Regions from separate parts of the Homo sapiens genome. Here regions 1, 2, 4, 5 and 6 are each linked to region 3. Evidence: promoter capture Hi-C in human tissues and cell types (Jung and others, 2019). All regions are on one chromosome and are shown on one strand. Each heading gives the region's core, a stretch centred on a gene start or on the middle of the fragment in contact. The rest is flanking DNA. Distances are from core to core; before and after follow the strand shown. Region 1 holds the start of PTH2 (parathyroid hormone 2). Region 2 has its middle 12 kb from the start of FGF21. Region 3 holds the start of LIN7B (lin-7 cell polarity scaffold B). Region 4 holds the start of SLC17A7 (solute carrier family 17 member 7). Region 5 overlaps LOC101928295 (a long non-coding RNA gene). Region 6 overlaps DBP (D-box binding PAR bZIP transcription factor).

Region 1 (3,945 bases), core at 412-2,911, 310 kb before region 3:
AGAACTCCAGTCCTCTAGCTCCTTCCTTCCTCAGATTCAGGAATCCAAGTCCCCAGCCTCCTCCTTCCCCAGAACATAGGAATCTGGGTCCCTGTCCCATCCACTCTTAGACTCAGGAGTCCAAGCTTCTGCCACCACCTTCCTAGGAAACTAGGAGCCCAAGTTCCCACATCCCAAGTTTCTACTGCTCTGTAGGACTTCCAAGTTTTGCCCATCTTCTCCTCACTGTGTATAAAGGCCCCTCTTTTTAAATTTTTTTTTTTTTTTGAGACAGAGTCTCACTCTGTTGCCCAGGCTGGAGTGCAGTGGTGCGATCTCAGCTCACTGCAACCTCCCTCTCCCAGGTTCAAGCGATTTTCCTGCCTCAGCCTCCCAAGTAGCTGGGATTACACCACACCTAATTTATGTATTTTTGTAGAGAAGGAGTTTCGCCATGTTGGCCAGTCTGGTCTCGAACTCCTGACCTCAAGTGATCCACCCACCACGGCCTTCCAAAGTGCTGGGATTACAGGCATGAGCCACAGCACCCGGCTGAGGCCCCTCTTAAGAGTCAGTGTGGACTGGGTGTGCTGGCTCACGCCTGTAATCCCAACACTCTGGGAGGCCAAGGAGGGCAGATCACAAGGTCAGGAGTTCAAGACCAGCCTGGCCAACAGTTTGGCGAAACCCTATCTCTACTAAAAATACAAAAATTAGCTGGGCGTGATGGTGGGCACCTGTAATCCCAGCTACTCGGGAGGCTGAGGCAGGACAATGGCTTGAACCTGGGAGGTGGAGGTTGCAGTGAGCCGAGATAGTGCCATTGCACTCCAGCCTGGGCAACAAGAGCAAGACTCCATCTCAAACAGACAAACACACACACACAAAAAGAGTCAGTGTGAGGAGGACTGGGCTTTAATCTTCACAGCACCCCCAAACTCCTCCCAGATAAGGGCTTAGACACATCCTTAGGGCAGCTCAGGAGCCCTGTCTGTTTTCCCCTCTTCTCACTCTCTGAGGTTTTTCTGATGTGGTCTGTCACTTTTCCTGTCCTCACACCCCTGCCACACGTACCCTTTGCCATTTCTTGCCTTTCCCCCCTCCCTACCTCACCCTCGATCTTTCTGGGCCTCTCGCTGCTGTATTTATCTCTGGGCAGCTCCTTCCAGACCAGGACGTCCTTCCATTTCCGTCTGTCTTTCTGAGAGCCTTTTCTTTCCCTCCTCCATCTCCATCTGACTGTTCGTTTCCATCTCCTTCGCTCTCTTTTCTTGTTTTCTTCCTTTTCCTTTCTTTTTCTGTCGTTCCCATTCTTTCTCTCTATTTCTTCCTCGGCCACTCTGTCTTTGTCCTTCTCTTTGTGTCTCTGTTCCTCTGACGGTCCTTCCGCCAGTCTCTATTTTTAGCCCTCTGACACACCCCCTGTGTCCACCTCTCTGTCTGTCTGTCTCTCCCCCTCCCTCGTCTCAGGTCCAGCTTCTGGTCCCAATTAGTTGGTGGCGGCCAAGGCAGCGGCAGGTCCCCCACCCCCGGCTCCTCATTACCGCTGGCGGCTCCTAATGAGCCTGGGGAGGGGGTGACCCCGCGTCCCCGGCCCCCCGGCCTGCGTCACTGCCCGGTGCGGGGGCTGCGGAGGCGATATAAGGGGGCTGCCACCATCGCTGCCCCAGCCCACTGCACGGTAGGGGACTGTGCGGGAAGCTGGGGGTGGATGCATGGTGGGGCCCGGGGTTCTGGGCCGGGATGCAGCCCTACTGAGCCCCTTTCTGGTTCTCCACAGGTGATGGAGACCCGCCAGGTGTCCAGGAGCCCTCGGGTTCGGCTGCTGCTGCTGCTGCTGCTGCTGCTGGTGGTGCCCTGGGGCGTCCGCACTGCCTCGGGAGTCGCCCTGCCCCCGGTCGGGGTCCTCAGGTAGGTGCCAGTCCCAGAACTCCCAGGGAGGGGTGGGAACTTGGAGAAGTGGGAAGAGAACCAAAGAGAAAGGGGACGGAAGATCCAGAAAGCGGAACAGAAGCCCAAAGAGAGGGCGACCGAGACCCAGCGAGAAGACAGAGACTAGGGGTGGGGGAAGGCGGGAGGAGGGTTTGGTGGTAGTGGTGGTGCGGGAAATGGACAGAAAATCAGCAAGGGAAAGAGACACAGAAAGATAGATCCCGAGAAAGGCGTGGAGAGGCTCGAAAGGAGTCGTTGCAGAAACGGATTCATTCTTTGAGCAACGTTTATTGGGTTCTTGGTGTGCGCCTGGCCATGCGCTGAGCGCTGTGGGCGGACAAGTGCATCAGACTCGGTCTCAGTACCTGGGGAGTTTCGAACCTGGTGAGCAGAGAGACAGAGACCCACACAGAGAACGAGAGAGACAGGGGGAGCCGGACCGAGCCACTCCACGGACTGGGCAGTAACGGGGCTTCGAGTTAGACCGCGGGGAGGACAGGCGGCGGCAAGAGCGAGTCTGGACGCGCGGTCACCGCGTCTCTCCACAGCCTCCGCCCCCCAGGACGGGCCTGGGCGGATCCCGCCACCCCCAGGCCGCGGAGGAGCCTGGCGCTGGCGGACGACGCGGCCTTCCGGGAGCGCGCGCGGTTGCTGGCCGCCCTCGAGCGCCGCCACTGGCTGAACTCGTACATGCACAAGCTGCTGGTGTTGGATGCGCCCTGAGCGCGCTGCCCGTCCCCATCTTAATAAAGACCATGCCCTGCGCTCCGGACTGCGCCTAGTTCCTGCGCGACCTGCGTGTGCGTTGGGTTGGGGGCGCGGGGCTTGAAATGGGGGGTAGAAAAGAGACAGGACTCTGTGTCGGCCACTCTGGCATCTCTCTCCTCAGTCCCCACTCTATTTTCTTTCCTCAATTCCGTTTCTCTCTGCCTGTCTTTGTCCAGGAAGCTGGCTTCTTTCCTATTTCTGGATCTCTGCTTCCCTATCGCCCCCACCCCCCCGCCCCCTCCTTTCATTCTGGGCCCCTGTCCCTCCCTACCCCCATCTCTGTCCCCTTCTCTCTGGTTCTCTGTAATCTCCAAGGTCTCTGTCCTCCTCCGTCTCTGTCCCTTTCTCTGGGTCTCTTTCCTCTCTGGGTATGTGTCCCCGTCTCCCTGGGTCCTTGTGGTTATCTCCCCTTTCACCCTTTTGGCTTTCTGGTCTTCTGGGAATCTCTGCCTCCTCTCTCTATTCTCCTTCTGCCTCTGAAACTCTTCCTTCCCTTCTCCATCACTTTCTTTTTTCCTTTTTCCTCTGCCTGACTCCTTCATATCTTCCTTTTCTTTCCTCCGTTAGGTTTCTATCTGTCTCTCCATCAGCTCTCATCTTTGAATTTCGCTGTTCCTCCCTCCCATCACTTCCAGACTTCTCCCCAGGCACAGTGGAAAGATCGCGGGCTCTGGTGTGAGGCAGCCCTAGCATCCAAACCCAGGGTCCTCCAAATCTAGCTGCGTAGTACTGAGAAAGCCTTCTTGACGTCAGTCTCTGTGTCTCCTTTTCTTCATCTGTTACGAGGATCCAATAAGATATACTTCATAAGACTTCAGTACAGCGCCCGTTACGTAGCAAAACGCTTTTATTTGAAAAGGGTTTCCTCTTCTCACAGCAGCGTCCAGCAATTTTTTTCAGGGTTTTCTGACTTCGGGTCTCCTTCTCTAGAGACCTTCGGGGCGCCAGGCTGGGGCAGGAGAAGAGAAAGGAGCAGGCGTCAGGCTCCAAAAAGGACAGGGAAAGGGCGGGAAGATACCTGGGCTGCAGGTGAAGCGAGAAAAGAGCCAATCGAAATCTGTCTCTCTCCCCGGAGGTCCAGCCTGCCCTTCAGCTCCGCCCCTCGTGGTAACCATGGCAACCCGGTGGTCCGCAGAGGGCTAGATCAGCGCGCCTGGGGCGCCGTTCGTGCGGACCGCGCTCTCATTGGTTTAAAGAAGAGAGTGGAGCCGGCCGCGTCTGCTGCGCGGGAAGCGGGGCCGCCGCGCGTGTTTGGCAAGGCGTCCC
Region 2 (3,885 bases), core at 411-2,910, 350 kb after region 3:
TCGAAAATATTTAAAGCATTTGTAAGAATCTGGTATATCAGACTTGTGAAAAGTATGACAGAGTGTATTACTGTTTTTCTCCTATTCATGGCATTTAAGGGAAACCACAATATCAGATTTGTGAAAAGTTCACTGATTAAATGTGCAATCACTGTTCAAATATTTAGGCGAAATCTACAATTGTGAAATTTGTGGCTTGTTATTTTTAGCTGTAGAAGTAGTCTGTGAATGTTTAAAGGAAAGATAATTGTTTAAAAATTCATTGATCATTAACAAAAAAACAAATTGTTGTGAATTTTCCTGTCCATGTACAAAAGCTTCTCAGTCATTCAAGGAGCTCACCACCATGTTTTCAACAAATGGGGCTGGAAAAAGTGGCCAGGAGCTGAAGGGAGGAGAATTGGGGAAGTGGGATTTAATTGCGGCAGAGAGTTTCAATTTTATCAGATGAAAAAATTCTGAAGATTGGTTGTGCAACAATGTGAATATACTTAACGCGACTTAACTGTACACTTAGAAATGATTCAGGTGCCGTGGGGTTATGATACAGATTGGTTTTCGGCCAGGTGCAATGGCTTACGCTTGTAATCCAACACTTTGGGTGGCCGAGGCGGGCAGATCACTTGAGGTCAGGAGTTCTGAGAGCCGCCTGGCCAACATGGTGAAACCCTGTCTCTACTAAAAATACAAAAATTAGCCGGGCATGGTAGCGCAAACCTGAAGTCCCAGCTACTTGGGAGGCTGAAGCACGAGAATCTCTTGAACCCGGGAGGCGGAGGTTCCAGTGAGCCCACTGCACTCCAGCCCGGGCAACAGAGCGAGATTCTTTCTCTCAAAAAAAAACAAAAAAAAAAAACAAAAAAAACAAAAACAAAAACAAAAAACCTCCAAAAAATTAGCCAGGTGGAGGCACCTGTAATCTGAGCCACTTAGGAGGCTGAGGCAGGAGAATTGCTTGAACCTGGGAGGCAGAGGTTGCAGAGAGCTGAGATTGTGCCACTGCACTCCAGCCTGGGCGACAGTGACCCTGTCCCCCTCCACCCCTCCGAAAAAAAAAGAAAAGAAAACAAGAACAGTAGTCAAATCTCTAGGGGCTCCAGTGAGTAGGTGAGGATAGGGTGTGGTGGAGAAGCTGAAAGATGCTAAATAGCCTGGCTCCCCAGGGATCTGGGAAGTGCTCACTCAGTAGAACCTCCCTCTTGGAAGGACGAAGCTCCACACTGGTGAAAACTAATAGAGAAACAAAACCCAAACTGATCTTGGCAGGCGCTCAGAGAGTAAAGCAGAGGGAAGGTTCTGATAATGGTGGGGGCAAGAACCAAGGAGATAGAGTTTGCTCCTGAACGTTGGAGAGGTGGCTGTGCTGAGTGGTTATATATTGCATACAATACTGTGGGGAAACAGCAAAGAGTCAGCCTATTTATTTATTTGTTATTTATATATTTAATTTTTTGAGACAGGGGCTCGCTCTGTCACCCAGGCTGGAGTGCAGTGGTGTGATCTTGGCTCACTGCAACCTCCGCCTCCTGGGTTCAAGCGATTCTCCTGCCTCAGCCTCCCGAGTAGCTGGGATTACAGGTGCCCACCACCATGCCCAGATAGTTTTTTTGTTTTGTTTTGAGATGGAGTCTTGCTCTGTTGCCCAGGTTGGAGTGCAGTGGCGTGATCTCAGCTCACTGCAGCCTCTGCCTCCTGGGTTCAAGAGATTCCTGTGCCTCAGCACTTTGGGAGGCCGAGGCAGGCGGATCATGAAGTCAGGAGAACGAGACCATCCTGGCTAACATGATGAAACCCCGTCTCTACTAAAAATACAAAAACAAAATTAGCTGGGCGTGGTGGTGGGTGACTGTAGTCCCAGCTACCCGGGAGGCTGAGGCAGAAGAATGGCGTGAACGCGGGAAGTGGAGCTTGCAGTGAGCCGAGATCGCTCCACTGCACTCCAGCCTGGGCGACAGAGCGAGACTCCATCTCAAAAAAAATAAAAAATAAAAAATAAATAAGAGATTCCTGTGCCTCAACCTCCCAAGTAACTGGGACCGCAGGTGTGCACCACCACGCCCAGCTAATGTTTGTAATTTTAGTAGAGACAGGGTTTCACCTTGTTGGGCAGACTGGTCTGGAACTCCTGACCTCAGGGGATTCGCTCACCTTGGCCTCCCAAAGTGCTGGGATTACAGGCGTGAGCCACTGTGACCGGCAAAACTTTTAAGATTTTTAAGGCTCAGAAAGCTATCCTGGCCCACCCTAATGTCAACTGTGCAACTTCCTCCTAAGGGTACGGCTCACTTAAATGAGAGAAAAAGAAGAGGAGTGTGAGGCCAGGTGCGGTGGCTTACGCCTGTAATCCCAGCACTGTGGGAGGCCAAGGCAGGCGTATCACCTGAGGTCAGGAGTTCGAGACCAGCCTGACCAACATGGAGAAACCCTGTCTCTACTAAAAATACAAAATTAGCCAGATGTGGTGGCACATGCCTGTAATCCCAGCTACTTGGGAGGCTGAGGCAGGAGAATTGCTTGAACCCGAGAGGCAGAGGTTGCAGTGAGCCGAAATCATGCCATTGCACTCCAGCCTGGGCAACAAGAGAGAAACTGTCTTAAAAAAAAAAAAAAAAAGAAGAAGAAGAGGAGTGTGACTAACTCCGTGTAGAGGTGTGCATTGGGGAAATAGCGTCCTGGAAGCTTCATGTCTACCTGGTACCGCTGAATGTGTCCTTACTTGGAAATACGGCCTTTGTAGATGAAATCAAGTTCAGGTGAGGTTATACCGGGTTGGGGTGTGCGCTAAGTCCTATATGATTGGTGTCCTTATAGGAAGAGGGAAATTAAGACAAAGAGCCAAGCGTGGTAGCTCACACCTATAACCCCAGCACTTTGAGAGGCCGAGGTGGGAGGATTGCTTGAGCCCAGGAGTTCAAGACCAGCCTGGCCAACATGACCCTGTCTGTACCAAAGTAAAAGTTAAAAGAACTAGCCAGGGCCAGGTGCAGTGGCTCACGCTTGTAATCCCAGCACTTTGGGAGGCCAAGGCAGGCAGTTCACTTGAGGTCAGGAGTTGGAGAGCAGCCTGGCCAACATGGCGAAACCCTGTCTCTACTAAAAATGCAAAAATTAGCTGGGCATGGTGGCGCAAACCTGAAGTCCCAGCTACTTGGGAGGCTGAAGCATGAGAATCTCTTGAACCCGGGAGGCAGAGGTTCCAGTGAGCCCACTGCACTCCAGCCCGGGCAACAGAGCGAGATTCTCTCTCAAAAAAAAGCAAAACAAAAACCCCCCAAAATTAACGAGGTGGGGGCACCTGTAATCCCAGCTACTTAGGAGGCTGAGGCAGGAGAATTGCTTGAACCTGGGAGGCAGAGGTTGCAGTGAGCCAAAATCATGCCACTGCACTCCAGCCTGGGCGACAGTGACCCTGTCCCCCTCCCCCACCCCCCCAAAAAAAGAAAAGAAAACAAGAACAGTAGTCAAATCTCTAGGGGCTCCAGTGAGTAGGTGAGGATAGGGTGCGGTGGAGAAGCTGAAAGATGCTAAATAGCCTGGCTCCCCAGGGATCTGGGAAGTGCTCACTCAGTAGAACCTCCCTCTTGGAAGGACGAAGCTCCACACGGGTGAAAACTAATAGAGAAACAAAACCCAAACTGATCTTGGCAGGCGCTCAGAGAGTAAAACAGAGGGAAGGTTCTGATAATGGTGGGGGCAAGAACCAAGGAGATAAGAGTTTGCTCCTGAACATTGGAGAGGTGGCTGTGCTGAGTGGTTATATATTGAATACAGTACTGTGGGGAAACAGCAAAGAGCCAACCTATTTATTTATTGTGTGTGTGTGTATATATATATATAGACAGAGAGAGAGACGGGCTCGCTCTGTCGCCCAGGCTGAAGTGCAGT
Region 3 (3,814 bases), core at 680-3,179:
GTGGCCCTCGCTGGCTGTGAAGGCAGCCACTGTGGCCTGGGAGAGAGAAAGCGACTGAAGATGAGGGCCCCTTCCAGGTAGGCATGAAAGCTGGGGTGGGGGATGTGGACCGAGGACAGCGATTTAGCCTGGGTTACTATCCCCAAGCATGGGACACTTGTCATGGCACAATGCACGATCCCCCTGTAATGACTGTGCGTCTCTTTCTGTTCACTTGCAAGAGAAAGTGTCCATTTGGTGTGTGTCTTGAATACCCCATACTTGCCAATCTTACTTTTTTTTTTTTTTTGAGATGAAGTCTCACTCTGTTGCCCAGGCTGGAGTGCAATGGCATGATCTCGGCTCACTGCAACCTCGGCCTCCTGGGTTCAAGCGATTCTCCTGTCTCAGCCTCCGGAGTTGTAATCCAGCTGGGATTACAGGCACTCGCCACCACGCTCGGCTTTTTCTTTCTTTTTTTTTTTTTTTGTATTTCTGTGGAGACGGGGTTTCACCATGTTGGCCAGGCTGGTCTCGAACTCCTGACCTCAACTGATCCACCTGCCTCGGCCTCCCAAAGTGTTGGGATTACAGGCGTGAGCCACCGTGCCTGGCCTCAATCTTACTTTTAAACAGAGGAAAGCCAGGCCTGGAGGGAGATCTGAGCCTCCGGACAGCAGCAAGAGGTAGCAGCATCTAACTATTGTGCAGTGAGAGGTCAGAGCGCCATGAGTTTCCTGGTTTGCACTGTACAGATGTTGAAGGTTATCTTCTACCAACCATGCCATACTGTTTCCATTTGCAGTTGCTAAAGATGCCTTAGTATGACATTTAAGTTAAAAATGTGCGATTATTTACTAATAGTAAGGTGGCACATAGATTTAGCAAAAATCATGAGGGAGGAAACAGAAATGACTGGCATGAAGGAGATATTGAGTTCGACTAGGCAGTTAAATAGACACCAGGAGCAATGGGGTGCGGGGCCCACCTTGGCTGTGGCATGGGCTCGGATCTCGGCGCTGCCGGTGATGTCCAGCGTGTCATAAAGCTGCTCATACACCTGGGTGAGGAGGCAGCGGCATCAGGGAGTCGCCAGCTCCTCCAGCCCTAGACGCAGGAGTTCAGGCCTCTAGACCCTCTCCCGCTACCACGCAAGGATCCGCCCCGCCCCCGCAACAGAAGGCCGAGAAAACTACAACTCCCGAAGAACCCCTGAGCTGAAGCGTTGGCACCCCAAGGCGGGCCGCCTCGGGAGCTGCCGGGAGGCGTAGTCTCCGGGCTCGGGACAAGCAGGAGGAGGAGGAGGAGGACGACGGCCACCAGCTCGCGCCCCTGCGCCGCGCGCCCCTCACCTCTCGGATAGCGGAGCAGAAGCGGCTCTGCAGAACTCGCTGGAGGGCCTGCAGCTTCTGCGGCGGCAGCTCCCCGCTGCGCTGGAGCCGCTCGAGGAGCTCAACCGCCCGGGACACGTCTGCGGGGCGGGGGCGGGGCGCAGAAACCCCGAGTGTCAGAGACCCCGAGACGCAGAGAAGCAAGGAGAGCGGCGGAGTGAGGCCGAGCGCACAGTCCGGGGAGGACGGCCGAAGCCTAGTCGGACACCCCGCAGAGTCCAGGGTGGCGCAGGAGAGACTGCCACCAGCGGCCCTGCGGCCCCGGGACCCCTCCACAGGCCGGGTTGTAAGGCGGGCGCCCAGCGTCCCGGCCCGCGCCCAGGGAGCCTCCCACACCTAGCGACCGCCCGGCCCCGGCGCCCGCCCCGCCCACCCCCTCCGGGTCCGCTGGCCCACCCGCACTGGCCTGACCCGGGAAGGGCGGGGACCGGGGGCTGGGTATGTAGGCCGCGGCCCGGGTGGGCAGGGCCCCCTGGCGCACGCTTACCCCGCTCCAGCCCCAGCGGCTCCACCAGCGCAGCCATGTCGGCGCCACAGCTGCCAGCCGCCCGCCTGCCCTGGCGCCGGCGAGGAGGGCGGGGCTGCGCGAGGCCACGCCCCGGGCCACGGGCGCCCCCTGCGGAGGCGCAGCCTGGAGAGCGCCCAGCTCTCCCTCGCCCGACTGCTCCGACCACCTGCCGCGCGCCAGCCGCGCCCTGCCCTCCGCCCCGGCCAGTCGGTCCTGTTGGCGACCCCTCCCACTGCAGGTTCGGTCTGTGTGTACCTTTCAGGATCCGTGTCTGCCTGCCCTCCACACCCGTCTATCCCCTGTCCATCCTTTCCCCACATTCATTCAACAAACTCTTGTGAAACATCTGAGCCCAAGTCATGGACACCGTGGTGAGCAGGACAGCCAAGCCCACGGCCCGAACGAAGCTTCCAGTCTATAGGGGAGGTAGACGACCAACTACGGCTGTGATGAGAGCTGAGAGTGGGGAGGTGATGATCTAGAAAACGAAGGAAATCCTAGAGGAGGGACATTGACATACAGTCCTGGGAGGTAAGATGAACAAGAGGTGGAGCTTGGGTCACCCCCACCACCCAGAAAGAGCCCACGTGGCTGGAAGCAGAGTTAGGATTGGTTGATGATGAGGTGAAAAGGTCGGCAGGATAGTTTATGCCTGGGCTCCTGCGTTGGCATATGCGCCTTGAGGATTTGGGGCTTCATGCAAACTCCTAAGAGAAAAATATGACACTCAAATTTGTATTATTATTATATTATTATTATTATTATTTTTGAGACGGAGCCTCGCTCTGTCGCCCAGGTTGGGCCTCAAATTTGTATTTTAAGATCACTGGGGCCGGGCACGGTGGCTCACACCTGTAATCCTAGCGCTTTGGGAGGCTGCAGCAAGACTACTTGAGCCCAGGAGTTCAAGACCAGCATAGGCAATATAGTGAGACCTCGTATCTATTGAAAAAAAAAAAATCACTGTAGCCACTGTGGAGACTGGTTTGGACAAGAACAAGAGGAGAAGCAGCGGGGCAACTTACGAGGCTACCACAGCCATCCAGGTGGCAGCTAGCACCAGGGCCAAAGCACAGAAGATGGGTGGGCAGATGTGGGAAATGTCTAGACAAGCCTTGGTGCTTGGCTATATAAGGGGATTGGGAGGTGCAGGAGAAGACAGTATTAAGGTGCTTTGGTGCCATTTTTAAGATGGTCTACACTGAAAGAGGGATACTGGATATTTTGTTTTTGAGACACAGTCTTCCCTCTGTTGCCCAGTCTCGAGTGCAGTGGCGTGATCTCGGCTCATTGCAACCTCTGCCTCCCGGGTGCAAGCAATTCTCCTGCCTCAGCCTCCTGAGTAGCTGAGAGTACAGGTGTGCACCTCCACACCTGCCAAATTTTTGTATTTTTCATAGAGATGGGGTTTCACCATGATGGCCAGGCTGGTCTCGAACTCCTGACCTCAAGTGATCCACCTGCCTCAGCCTCCCAAAGTGCTGGGATTACAGGCGCGAGCCACCTTGCCTGGCCGATACTGGATATTTTGAATTTGAGGAGCCTATGCAGAATCCATGGGGAGAAACTATCGATCTAGGTCTAGGGCTCAAAAGAGCAACCTGGTCTGCAGGCATGTTTGAATATTGGGGCATAGGTGGTAAATAAAACCACCGGAGTGGATAAGAATGTCAGGGGCAAGCGAATATTAAGACGGCCTAGAACTGGTCCCCAGACCTCTCTAACACTTAAAAGTCAGGAGGACAGCAGAGAATGGCCTGAAATGTAGGCAGAAACCCAGGTGGGAGAAACCATGAGAAGAGGGGTTTTTAAATTTTATCTTCTTTTTTTGTTTGTTTTAGATGGAGGGGTCTTTGTTGCTCAGGCTGGTCTTGAACTCCTGGGCTCAAACAATCCCCCTGCCTTGGCCTCCCAAAGTGCTGAGTTTACAGGCACG
Region 4 (3,696 bases), core at 475-2,974, 330 kb before region 3:
CACCCTCCTGGGGCCTGGATCTGGAGGTGGACTCAGCGCCGGGAGATGGGCTGGTCTGAGGACAGGAGCGGGGCGGGACCCTGTCTGCGGGCCCAGGACAGGGAAGGGCCGGGCTCTACCCAACGGGGCGGCGCTGGAATTCCGGCGTGGAGACAGAGTTCGGTGGGCGGGGACAGATTCCGGGGGTGGGAGCAGGACTGGGAGGGCAGGGACAGATCCCAGAGGCGGAGGCGGTGGGCGGGGGACAGATCCCATGGGGCAGGGGCAAGACTGGGAGGGCGGGGACAGATCTCAGGGGCGGAGGCCAGAGCTCGGTGGGCGGGGTCAGATTCCGGGGGCGGAGGCAGGACTGGGAGGTCGAGGACAGATCCCAGTGGCGAGGGTCAGAAGTCGGAGGGCGGGGACAGATCCCATGGGGCCGGGGCAAGACTGGGAGGGTAGGGAGAGATCCAGGGGGCGGGGAGAACTGGGTGGGCGGGGACAGATCCCATGGGGCAGGGGTAGAACACAGAGGGCGGGGACAGATCCCAGGGACGGAGGCCAGAACTCGGTGGGTGGGGACAGATTCCAGGGGGCAGAGATAGATCCTGTGGGGAAGGGGTAGAACTCAGATGGCAGGAACAGATTCCAGGGGGCAAGGACAGAACTGAGAGGGCGGGAACAGAGCCAGGGACAGATCCTAGGAGAAGGGGACACAACTCCAACGGTGGGGAGAGAACTCAGAGGGCGGGGGCAGAACTCAGGTCAGCGACAGATCCTAGGGGAGGAGACAAATTCAGAGGGCGGGTGAGGATGCCAGGGGGTGCGGATCACAATTTAGGGGGCGGGACAGATCTCAGGGGGTGGAGACAGAACTCAAATAGAGGAATGGATCCCCCGGAGCTAGGGAAGAACTCAGAGCGCGGACAGATCCCAGAGGAGCAGAGAAATAACACAATGGGGAGACTATGGGGTCGCAGCTGGCACTGGCGGGGTGTGTGAAATATAACTGTGGGGGGCGGAAGCCAGAGGGAAGAAAATCGGGGTTAGGGAATGAAACTCAGGGAGAGAAGCAACAGGGAGGAGAGAGACGCCGGAGGGAGAATAGAGCTGGAGGAGTATGGGATTCAAAGGGGAAAGATGGAAACTAAGGAGGAGATGGAGCTCAAGGGTGAAGAACCCGGGTGGCGAAAGGGACTAGAGGGGGACGACAGGTGGATCGAAGTAGGCGTTGGACTTGAGGGGAAAGAATTTCCCTTGAATGAGAAAACAAAGAACTCCCTGGATGAGACTATTGGAACTGGGGACGAGGTGGGATGGGGATGGAATTGCGGGGTGGGGGCGGGGAGGAGTGAAGGAACTGGAGGATGAACGCAGAGGGAAAGTCAGAGAAGACAGGATTGTAAGGGACGCAATTAGGGGGAACAGAAGTCGGGGAGAGAAATGATGGGGATGAGAACTCAGGAGAGGAGAGAAAATCTGGGTAGGAGCCAGGGGTGATGGAACAGGGATAGGGGGAGTAGCCTGGGGAAGGAACAGAATTGGGGGGCGTGAACTCGGAGGCGTGAGTTCAGAACCCACAGGCGTGGTCTTGGAAGGCTCAGGAGGGGACAGGACGAGGATGAAAGGGCTGCGAGAGGGGGCGGGTCTGACAGACGAGGGGAGGGGCCTGGTGGGGCCGGGGCGGGGCCTCCCGCGCCCCGCCCCCGGCGCTGAGTCCTGTGACAGCCCCCGGGCCGCCTGCACTTGCAGCCTCCTTCCCCCCGAGCGGAGCTGCGGGGCCGGCCGGGCCGGGGCTGGACCCCGGGAACCCGGACGCGGCCGCCCGGGCCCGCGGGCGGGGGGATCGGCGGGGGGGACCCGCGGGGTGACCGGCGGCAGGAGCCGCCACCATGGAGTTCCGCCAGGAGGAGTTTCGGAAGCTAGCGGGTCGTGCTCTCGGGAAGCTGCACCGGTGAGCCTGGCGGGGGTCCCGGGAGAAGAGTGGGAGGATCTGAGGAGGATGCTAATTCCCACCTGGGCGCAGACTGACAGATGAACGGGCGATACCCCGGCATGGGGGTCCACCCATCTGTCCAGTTTTCTGCCGTGGGCTCCGACGGCGCTGTTCTCCCTGGTCGAGCCTTGTCCATTATCCTGTTCCTTTTTCTGCACCCCACCCCACCCGGCTCCACTCTCTCTGGTGCTGTAAATGCCTCTCTCCCGGGTCTCTGGCTCCTCCCCCACCACTTCTGGGTCTCTGTCCCCGTCTCTTTCTGGATGTCTCTGCCCCTTTTCTCTCTGGGTCTCCGTCTCCCTCTTTTTCCAGATCTCGGCTCCCTTCTCTCTGGGCCCCTCCTTCTCCCTAGATCTCTGCCTCCGCTTCTTTGCGTCTCTGTGCCCCTCTCTCTGGTTCTCTGGCCATTGCTCTCACTGGATCTCTATCAACTCCTGACTCAGAGTCTCTGTCCCCCTCTTTCTGGGTCTCTCCTCTTCCCTGGATCTCTGGTCCCCACTTCTCTGGGTCCCTGTCCCCGTCTCTGTGTTTTAATTCTCCCACCATGGGTCTCTCCGTCTCTCTGTGTCTTTTTCCGTTTCTGTCTGGCATGGAGTTTAATCTGCAGCTAAAGCGGATTGGGGCTCATAGCCCGTTGTCCTTGAGGGGGTGAGGCTGGGTGGAAGAAGTCACAGCACCCTGGGTCCCTGGGAGAGAAAGGAGTTAGAGGCCAAAAATTTCGGCTCCTGGGGTAGGACAGCCTTCCCAAAGGATACAGGCTGGGGCTGACAGGGACTCCCTCCCAACCAGGTTGATGACCCCAGTGAACCGAGTGTCCCTCAGGATAATCTGGACACCTCCCCACAGGCTCTCACCCCCAACCCCAGCTTTGGCTCTAAGTCAGATAAATTACTCAGCTGCGGAAAAGCCTAAAAATATATCTGGCCACAGTGCACGAAGGAGATGGCCTCATCAGCACCATGCCCCTGCCGCCGTGCCCTCAGGCCCTGTCCCCTTGGCCCACAGCCCTGACCCTGTGTTTCGCTGAGCTTCAGTCCACCTCGCTAGGCCATGGGGGTCCTTTGCTAAGTCTAACATCAGTCTTGCTTGCTGCAGATCACCTCTTAGCTCCAAAGTTACCCCACCCTCTAGTAACATGAGAGACAAGAATAAGGCTGGACAGAAGTGGGGGGAGGTGGGCAGGAGGATGGTGCAGTGACGGAGGTTGGTGGTGGAGGGGAAGCTGAGATAACCTCACCCCTTCTTTTTCCAATTTTCCAGCCCCTCCCCACCCTTTTTCTCGCCTCCTTTCACGAGTTTCTCAAAATACATCAGTGTGAAGTCAGGAGAATGAGAGAGAGAGAAAGAGACGTGCTGGTGGAGGGGGCTGGGGGGTGGCAGCGGGAGGGATGTATTCCTCAGGCCCCTCCCTCAGTCTCTGCCTCTGTTTCTCATCTGTGCTAGGGTTTCTCACAGTCAATCTCTCTGGCTCTCACTCTCTGAGTTACCTCTTGGGTCCCCAGAGACCCCCGGGCTCTGGCCAGGACCATCAGCAGGGAGTTTGTGCAGAGAAAAGCATTTGCTTCCAATGCCTGGGGTTTGCTCTGATGGTTGGAGGGAGAGGGGAATACCCCATATTAGAGACAACAGGTTGATCTCATTTAATCCTCTAGACAAAGATGGGGAAACTGAGGCTCCATTCTGGGGTTGGGGAGATCAGTGGATGAGTATGAGCCCCATGA
Region 5 (4,190 bases), core at 1,687-4,186, 270 kb before region 3:
CATACATAAAGTAAACATAACGAACCCGTATATACCTAACACATAGCTTTAGCAATTATCAACGTTCTGCCTTATTTTTGGAAACAGGGTCTCACTCTGTTACGCAGGCTGGAGTACAGTGGCACATTCTTGACTGACTGCAACCTCCACCTCCCAGGCTCAAGCGATCCTCCCACCTTGGATCTGTGAGTTGATGTCTTTCATCAGTTTTTTAAAATTCTTGCCCAGGAGTTCTTTAGTATTGCTTCCTCCTCATTGTCTTTTTCCTCTCTTCTAGGACTCCAGTATGTATGTATTAGACCTTTTAACCATGACCTATATGTCTCATATGTTTTTAATGTATTTTCTACCCTATTTCTGTGTAATTTAATCTAGATATTTTCTATTGATCTGTTTTCCAGTGTGTCTAACCTGATGTGGGACTAATCTACTGAATTTTTATTTCAATTAATTTATTTTTCAGCTCTAGAATTTATATTGGATTCTCCCTCCTCCTTAGATTCCAGTTCTCTGATGAAATTATCCATCTTTTCATCTATTTTTGGGGAACATATTAATTATAGTTATTTGAAAGCCTGTATCTGAGAACTGTAATACCTGGATCACCTTTGGGTACATACTTCTAGTGTATGTTTTTTCTCTTGGTTTTCTGTCATTTGGTCTTGTTTCCTGGCAAGACTGGTAATTTTTAAATTAAAATATAAAAACTGGATGGTATTATCTTCCCTCGGAAAGAATTTAATTTCCTTGGCTGGGCGCGATGGCTCATGCCTGTAATCCCAGCACTTTGGGAGGCCAAGACGGGTGGATTACAAGGTCAGGAGTTCAAGATCAGCCTTGCTAATATGGTGAAACCCCATCTCCCGTGTTCAAATGACTCTTATGCCTCAGTCTCCCGAGTAGCTGGGATTACAGGTGCCTGCCACCATGCCCAACTAATTTTTGTATTTTTAGTAGAGACAAGGTTTCACCATATTGGCCAGACTGGTCTTGAACTCCTGACCTCAGGTGATCCACCTGCCTCAGCCTTCCAAAGTGTTGGGATTACAGGTGTGAACCATCATGCCTAGCTTGTATTCAGCTTTTATAGTTTTTGGTGGGGAGTTAGTCAGCTACTAGCTACTCCATCATAGTGACAAGCAAAAGTCCGGATAATCTTTTTGATCAGTAAATACATATATGTTACTTCTTTAATTGTAACACTTAGCTCACTTCCCATTTTAAATAGAATAACATAAAAACTCCTCACTACGCTCCAAAGACCCTGCATGGTCTGCTCTCCTGTACCCTACGTCTACTTTTGTGATCTTATCCCCTATTTATCTCCATCAATAACTGCTCTGTCCACCTTGGCCTCCTTGTTTTTGATCAAGCCAAGCCATTTCCAACCTCAGGACCTTTGCACTTGCTATTCCCTCAGCCTGAAAGTCTCTTTCTCCAGATTTACCATGGACCGGATTTGCTCCATTACCCCAGTTCAGTCTCTGTGTATATATCAGAGTGCCTCCCTCTGTGTATATATCAGAGAGACTACCCTATCTAAGATGAGCTCGGTCCCCTCAGAGTTTCCTTTCTGCCTCATGTTGCTTTATTCTTCACAGCATTTGCCATTGCTTGATACATATTTATTGTTTCTCTCCCCCACCAAATCCCATGATGCTGGGGCATTGTTTATTCACTGCTTAATCCCCACTGCTTAGAATAGTGTTGGGGGTCTGGGCACATTGGTTCATGCCTGTAATCCCAGGACTTTGGGAAGCTGAGGCAGGCAGATCGCTTGAGCCCAGGAGCTCAAGACCAGCCTGGGTAACATGGAGAAACCACCTTTCTACAAAAAAAATTTATAAAAATTAACCGGGCATGGTGGCATATGCTTGTGGTCCCAGCTACTCAGGAGGCTGAGGTGGGAGGATCACCTGAGCCCAGGAGGCAGAGGTTGCAGTGAGCTGAGATCACACCACTACACTCCAGCCTGGGTGACAAAGTGAGACTCCATCGCCTGCCCCTGCCCCCCCAAAAAAACCCAAAGTCTTATGAATTAACACTTTTTTTCCAGTCAAAAAATCAGGATGATATCAGGGAATACCAGACCTGGTAACTGAGTAGATGTTGGGGGTCTCACCCAGGTGTGTGAAGCCACTGGGAGGAAGATGCTGAAATAGTCTGAGATGTAGTGGTTGTGGGTGGGTCCATGGATTTTCTTGGGGGAAGCGAGGCCCAGGAGATAGTGGTCCATCCCCATCCTCTACTGCTTTCTTCCTCTCTAATTGAGCTAATGCCCAGTTAAGTCTTCAAAGATCTTGAGCACTGAGAGGCTTTCAGGCCCCTCCTCCTCTATAACATAATAATGTAAAGTGGAGACCAGCTGCTAGTAAAGCACTAAATGCAAAAGGTAAAACTATAAAGTTAATAAAAGAAAATGTAGGAAAGTATTAATGACTTCTTTTAGGGATCTCAAAAGGATGAATCATAAGTCAAAAAAATTAATTTGATTACATCAGTATTAAGGGTTTCTATTCATCAAGGATCCCAAGGGCCAAGATCATGAGAGATGAGATGATGGACGAGCGGAAGATATTTGCATTGTCTAAAATTGACCAGGGGCTGGGCGTGGTGGCTCATGCCTGTAATCCCAGCACTTTGGGAGGCCAAGGCAGGCAGATCACCTGAGGTCAGGAGTTTGAGACCGGCCTGGCCAAGAGATTTTGTATTTTTGTACTAAAAATACAAAAATTAGCCAGATGTGATGGAGCATGCCTATAATCCCAACTACTTGGGATGCTGAGGCAGGAGAATAGCTTGAATCTGGGAGGTGGAGGTTGTGGTGAGCTGAGATCGCACCACTACACTCCAGCCTGGGCGACAGAGTGAGACTCCGTCTCAAAAAAAATTAATAAATAAAATAAAAAAATAAAATTGACAAGGGATTAAAAGGTAGGTGATTGAAGGAACTCCTACAAATCAAAAAGAAAAAGATAACAACCCAACAGAAAAAAATGACCAAGAATTTACAGAAAAGCAGGCAATTTACAGAAGGGGAAATCCAAAAAACTAACAAATATGTGATAAGGAGCTCAAAAGATCAGTAACCAGAAACATTCCAATTAAAGCAACAGGAAACTACCCTTTTTAGATTGGCAGACTGCAACAAGCTGAATAATGCTTTATCCTTTAGGGTTTGCTCAGAGAAGCAGATCCATTGTGACTTATACAGTTCATCCTTGAACAATCCCACGTAGCTGGGATTACAGGCATGCACCACCATGCCCAGCTAACTTTTGTATTTTTAGTGGAGATGGGGTTTCACTATGTTGGTCAGGCTGGTCTCAAAGTCCTGACCTCAGGTGGTCCTCCCGCCTCAGCCTCTAAAAGTGCTGGGGTTACAGGCATGAGCCACCGTGCCCGGCGATTTTATTTTTTTTAACCCTCTCCTAACTTCCTCTGATTTCCTTAATAACATTTTCTTTTCTCTAGCTCACTTTATTGTTTGAATATAGTATATAATACATATAACACAGCCAGGCATGGTGGCTCACGCCTGTAAACCCAGAACTTTGGGAGGCCAAGGTGGGCTGATCGCTTGAGCCTAGGAATTGGAGACACCCCTGGGTAACATGGTGAAACCCTCATCTCTACTAAAAATACAAAAATTAGCCAGGTGTGGTTGTGAGAGCCTTATCTGTGGTCCTGCCTACCTGGGAGGCTGAGGAGGGGGGATCGCTTGAACCAGGGGGGTCGAGCCTGGAGTGAGCTATGATTGTGCCACTGCACTCCACCCTGGGTGACAGGGCAAGATCCTGTATCAAAAAAAAAAAAAATCCCCAAAAACATATATCATAAAATATATGTGTTCATCTACTGTTTATGTAAAGCTTCTGGTCAATAGCATGCTATTAGTCATTAAGTTTTTGGGGAGTCAAAATTGATCTTCAGATTTTTTACCTCACAGGGGGTTAGTCCCCTAAGCCCTGAGTTGTTCAGGGTAAACTGTTTAATAGAATTATTAATTAACTAATTGTTTTAACAGCTTTATTGAGTTATCATCCACACACCACATAATTTACCCATTTAAAGTGTATAATTCAGTGGTTTTCAGTGTACTCACAGAGTTCTACAATCATCACAATTAATTTTAGAACATTTTCATCACTCCAAAACAAAGCCCTACATCTCTTAGCCATTATTCCTAA
Region 6 (3,755 bases), core at 642-3,141, 480 kb after region 3:
CCTTAGCTGGCCCCGGCTGGCTGGTGCTTAAAGGTACAGGCGCCTCCTTTCGAACCAATCTTCTGGAACCTTAGAGCAGCTTCTCCTCCTCTTTCCAGCGAGTAGCTCTTAGACTCTAACTTGAGAGCTTTTCAGTGCAGTAGATTCTTTTTCTCTGGACAGTCTGGGGTCTAAGCTTAGGTCGTGGATTCGGTAAGTAGGATTCAGGCTAGACTGTGCATCTGAAGTCCTGAGGTTTTAGAAGCAATAGCCCCATCGCTTCTCGGCCTTTTGGCTAAGATCAAGTGTAGAAGCAATAGCCCTGATTCGTGTGTTACCTAGGGCAAGTCAGTTATGACTGGGACTCAGTTTCCTTGTTTGTAAAGGTGGATATGGCTCCATGATCTCTAAGCATCTTTATGGCTTAGGGGAACCTTCATTTTTCTCGTTATTTTGGAGACGGAGTCTCGCTCTGTTGTCCGGGCTGGAGTGCAGTGGTATGATCTCAGCTCACTGCAACCTCCACCTCCAGGGTCCGGGTTCAAGCAATTCTCCAGCCTCAGCCTCCCTAGTAGCTGGGCTTACCGGCACCCGCCACTACACCTGGGCAATTTTCGTACTTTTAGTAAAGATGAGGTTTCTCCATGTTGGCCATGCTGGTCTTGAACTCCTGACTAAAGGTGATTCGCCGCCTCGGCTTCCCAAACTGCTGGGGTTACAGGCGTGAGCCACTGCGCCTGGCCAAGGGAACCTTCATATTTTATATTAGGGAGATTAATCCCTGGCCGAATTTATGCTAGATCCCAGAAGGACTTTCCATGTGGCTATGATACCACAGCAAAAAGTAGCTTCAGGAAACCCCCTCCTTAAAATACACACTCAGCTGACACGTGCTGTTTCCCCAAGGCCTGACCTCTCGGGACACACCCAGCCCTGTGGACCCAGACACCGTGGAGGTGTTGATGACCTTTGAACCCGACCCAGCTGATCTTGCCCTATCAAGCATTCCTGGCCACGAGACCTTTGACCCTCGAAGACATCGCTTCTCAGAAGAGGAACTTAAGCCCCAGCCAATCATGAAGAAGGCAAGAAAAATCCAGGTGCCGGAGGAGCAGAAGGTGAGCAGAGCTGGATGTGGGAGATAGACTTGGCTGGAGACATGCCCCACAGCCAGGGAGGGGCCTTTTCTCACAGTCAAGCCTGGGCTTCTCCTTGGGATTAGTGCTCAGCCTCTCCTGGCCTGCAGCCACAGATTAGTCCTCCTTGGCCACGGGGCACAAGGGGGCAGGGGCCTGAGGTTTATAAAGACAGTGTCAACTGGGCGAGGGGCCTCACTCGTGTAATCCCAGCATTTTAGGGGGCTGAGGCAGGAGGATCTCTTGAGCTCGGGAGTTCAAGACCAGCCTGGGCAACATGGCAAAACCCCATTTCTACAAGCCACTTGGGAGGCTGAGGTGGGAGGACTGCTTGTGCCTGGGAGATTGAGGCTGCAGTGAGCCAAGATTACACCACTGCACTCCAGCCTGGGCAACAGAGGGAGACCTTGTCTTAAAACAAAAGACAGTGTCACTGTGGGGTGCTGACTCAGCCAGCTCTGCTAGGTCTACTTGTAGAGACTTGGAGCTTCTCCTATTACTTGGGTCCAGAGCTCCACCAGGCACACTTGCAAAGGACAGTCTTCCTTTGGCAATGGGATATCAGCCTGTGGCCTGTCTCTCCTTACTCAGCAGGCCTTTGATCTCTGATGTGGGACTTCCTTTGGAGTGATTGCATTTGGCTAGGATGAAGACTGTGCCAGCCCCTTTAGGCCTTGTTTCCTGGGCCTGGACTTCTCACTGGTGGGAGACTTCAGGCTTCTGTTAGCAGCCAGTGCCACTTTCTGATTTGGGGTGATTTGAGCAGTCATTGCATCTTTGCATGATTTTGTTTTTTGCCATTACTGGAGTCTTCCCTAGCAAGAGTTGCTTGGGCTTCTGTTACAAGACTTTGTCATTCCGGGCCAGGCGCGTTGGCTCACGCCTGTAATCCTAGCACTTTAGGAGGCTGAGGTGGGCGGATCACTTGAGGTCAGGAGTTTGAGACCAGCCTGGCCAACATGGTGAAACCTCGCCTCTACTAAAAGTACAAAAATGTTCCGGGTGTGGTGTCTCACACCTGTAATCACAGCACTTTGGGAGGCCGAGGCGGACAGATCACGAGATCAGGAGACCATCCTGGCCAACATGGTGAAACCCCGTCTCTACAAAAAAATACAAAAATTAGCTGGGCATGGTGGCACTCATCTGTAGTCCCAGCTACTTGGGAGGCTAATGTAGGAAAATCGCTTGAACCCAGGAGACGGAGGTTGCAGTGAGCCGAGATCGCGCCACTGCACTCCAGCCTGGGCGACAGAGTGAGAACTCCATCTCAAAAAAAAAAAAAAAGAACAAAAATTAGCCGGACATGGTAGCGGGCACCTATAATCCCAGCTACTTGGGAGGCTGAGGCAGGAGAATCGCTTGAACCTGGGAGGTGGAGGTTGCAATGAGCCGAGATCATGCCACTGCATTCCAGCCTGAACGACAGAGCGAGACTCCATCTCAAAAACAAACAAGACTTTGCCATACCCTTGCGTAACACATAGCTACTTGAAGCACCTAGGACTGGCCTGGAAGTCAGATCTACACCAGTGGTTTCTCCTTCTAGAGGGCCCTGTTGCTAGGGACTGGATTTACCCTCACAAGCAGGAACTGGGCTTTAATTAAATAGTGGAGTAGAGAGCATCTTTCTGAGCCCCGTGGTCCTTGGTTACTAAGGAGGAGTCTTCCTTAGGAACCAACTTCCAGGATGGGAGGACTTTAGGTATAATCCTCTGGGGAGGTCTCAGGATAGTCCCCTTTCCTAAGAGACAGCTCTTCTCTCAGTCAGGTCCTACTGGGGAGGAGGCTATTCTCTGGCCTCAGTTCAAGGCCAGCAGGTCAGAGGCTGGCCACAGTCATTGAAACCACTTAGACCTCACTTTTGTTTGCCAAGGATGGATGAGGTTGCCTTGGCAACCAGGTCAGAAGGCCCCAGCTCTGCGAGGATTTTATGGGACACCAAACCCCATCACCAGGGCACCAAGCTTTCCTTAGCAACCAGGATCTGGAAAGGCAATGTGCAGGGCAGGGCAGTGCTCTTCATTGGGAGAAGCCCTCAGACCATGAAGGCCTTGTTGCTAGGGAACAAGCATCCTTAGCAAGCAAGAGCTAACTGCATGCAGGCCTTTATCATGTGGGGAGGGCTGGGGTCCGCTTTGCAGAGTGGAGACTTGAAGCGAGTTGCTTGAGGGTGGGGGGTCTATCTCATGCCTTTACTGTTGCTAGGGGCCCAATCTCCTTAGCAACCAGGGCCCTAGAAAGGCAGACCCTTGGGTACCTATCCCAGCAGAGACCTGGTGTGGTTTAGGCCCCGCTGCTGGGGCTCCCTTCCTCTCTCGCTGGGACCTGGGTCCCTCTGGACCTCAGTGCTCTCCCCCTCTTCTCCTGCAGGATGAGAAATACTGGAGCCGGCGGTACAAGAACAACGAGGCAGCCAAGCGGTCCCGTGACGCCCGGCGGCTCAAGGAGAACCAGATATCGGTGCGGGCGGCCTTCCTGGAGAAGGAGAACGCCCTGCTGCGGCAGGAAGTTGTGGCCGTGCGCCAGGAGCTGTCCCACTACCGCGCCGTGCTGTCCCGATACCAGGCCCAGCACGGGGCCCTGTGAGGCTGCCCCACATCCCCACCTGGCGGAGCTCTCCTCCGCCTTGCTGAGACT

What was found. Contacts are between HindIII fragments. The study calls those that stand out against the background at their distance.
Region 1: a contact is called between the fragment with the promoter of PTH2 here and the fragment with the promoter of LIN7B in region 3, in 2 of the 25 tissues and cell types used here (IMR-90 fibroblasts and lymphoblastoid cells).
Region 2: a contact is called between a fragment that was not itself captured here and the fragment with the promoter of LIN7B in region 3, in 2 of the 25 tissues and cell types used here (heart left ventricle and lymphoblastoid cells).
Region 4: a contact is called between the fragment with the promoter of SLC17A7 here and the fragment with the promoter of LIN7B in region 3, in 4 of the 25 tissues and cell types used here (dorsolateral prefrontal cortex, lymphoblastoid cells, small bowel and 1 more).
Region 5: a fragment that was not itself captured here is called in contact with the fragment with the promoter of LIN7B in region 3 in 5 of the 25 tissues and cell types used here (dorsolateral prefrontal cortex, hippocampus, liver and 2 more).
Region 6: a contact is called between a fragment that was not itself captured here and the fragment with the promoter of LIN7B in region 3, in 1 of the 25 tissues and cell types used here (lymphoblastoid cells).

What each region holds. Positions count from the first base shown.
Region 1 is chr19:49,421,157-49,425,101 of GRCh38, reverse strand. It overlaps PTH2 (parathyroid hormone 2), which reads left to right and starts at 1,661. Exons shown (of 2, transcript NM_178449.4): 1 at 1,661-1,890; 2 at 2,460-2,683. The coding sequence starts at 1,763. The coding sequence ends at 2,634. It also overlaps a transcript of GFY not described here. RefSeq lists a silencer at 1,342-1,545. The HindIII fragment of the contact is 12,103 bases long and covers 1-3,945 here.
Region 2 is chr19:48,765,787-48,769,671 of GRCh38, reverse strand. No RefSeq gene overlaps it. Among named protein-coding and RNA genes, the nearest start is that of FGF21, 12 kb to the right of the region's middle. The HindIII fragment of the contact is 4,374 bases long and covers 1-3,847 here.
Region 3 is chr19:49,112,485-49,116,298 of GRCh38, reverse strand. It overlaps LIN7B (lin-7 cell polarity scaffold B), which reads right to left and starts at 1,929. Exons shown (of 6, transcript NM_022165.3): 1 at 1,858-1,929; 2 at 1,332-1,450; 3 at 968-1,039; 4 at 1-36. The coding sequence starts at 1,894. RefSeq lists a silencer at 1,530-2,109. The HindIII fragment of the contact is 18,984 bases long and covers 1-3,814 here.
Region 4 is chr19:49,439,555-49,443,250 of GRCh38, reverse strand. SLC17A7 (solute carrier family 17 member 7) reads left to right here and starts at 1,724. Exons shown (of 12, transcript NM_020309.4): 1 at 1,724-1,933. The coding sequence starts at 1,872. The HindIII fragment of the contact is 22,755 bases long and covers 1-3,696 here.
Region 5 is chr19:49,378,846-49,383,035 of GRCh38, reverse strand. It overlaps LOC101928295 (a long non-coding RNA gene), which reads left to right. Exons shown (of 3, transcript NR_110729.1): 2 at 88-185. Among named protein-coding and RNA genes, the nearest start is that of KASH5, 7.3 kb to the left of the region's middle. The HindIII fragment of the contact is 6,743 bases long and covers 1-4,190 here.
Region 6 is chr19:48,630,786-48,634,540 of GRCh38, reverse strand. It overlaps DBP (D-box binding PAR bZIP transcription factor), which reads left to right. Exons shown (of 4, transcript NM_001352.5): 3 at 886-1,097; 4 at 3,489-3,755. The coding sequence ends at 3,704. Among named protein-coding and RNA genes, the nearest start is that of DBP, 4.7 kb to the left of the region's middle. The HindIII fragment of the contact is 4,057 bases long and covers 1-3,755 here.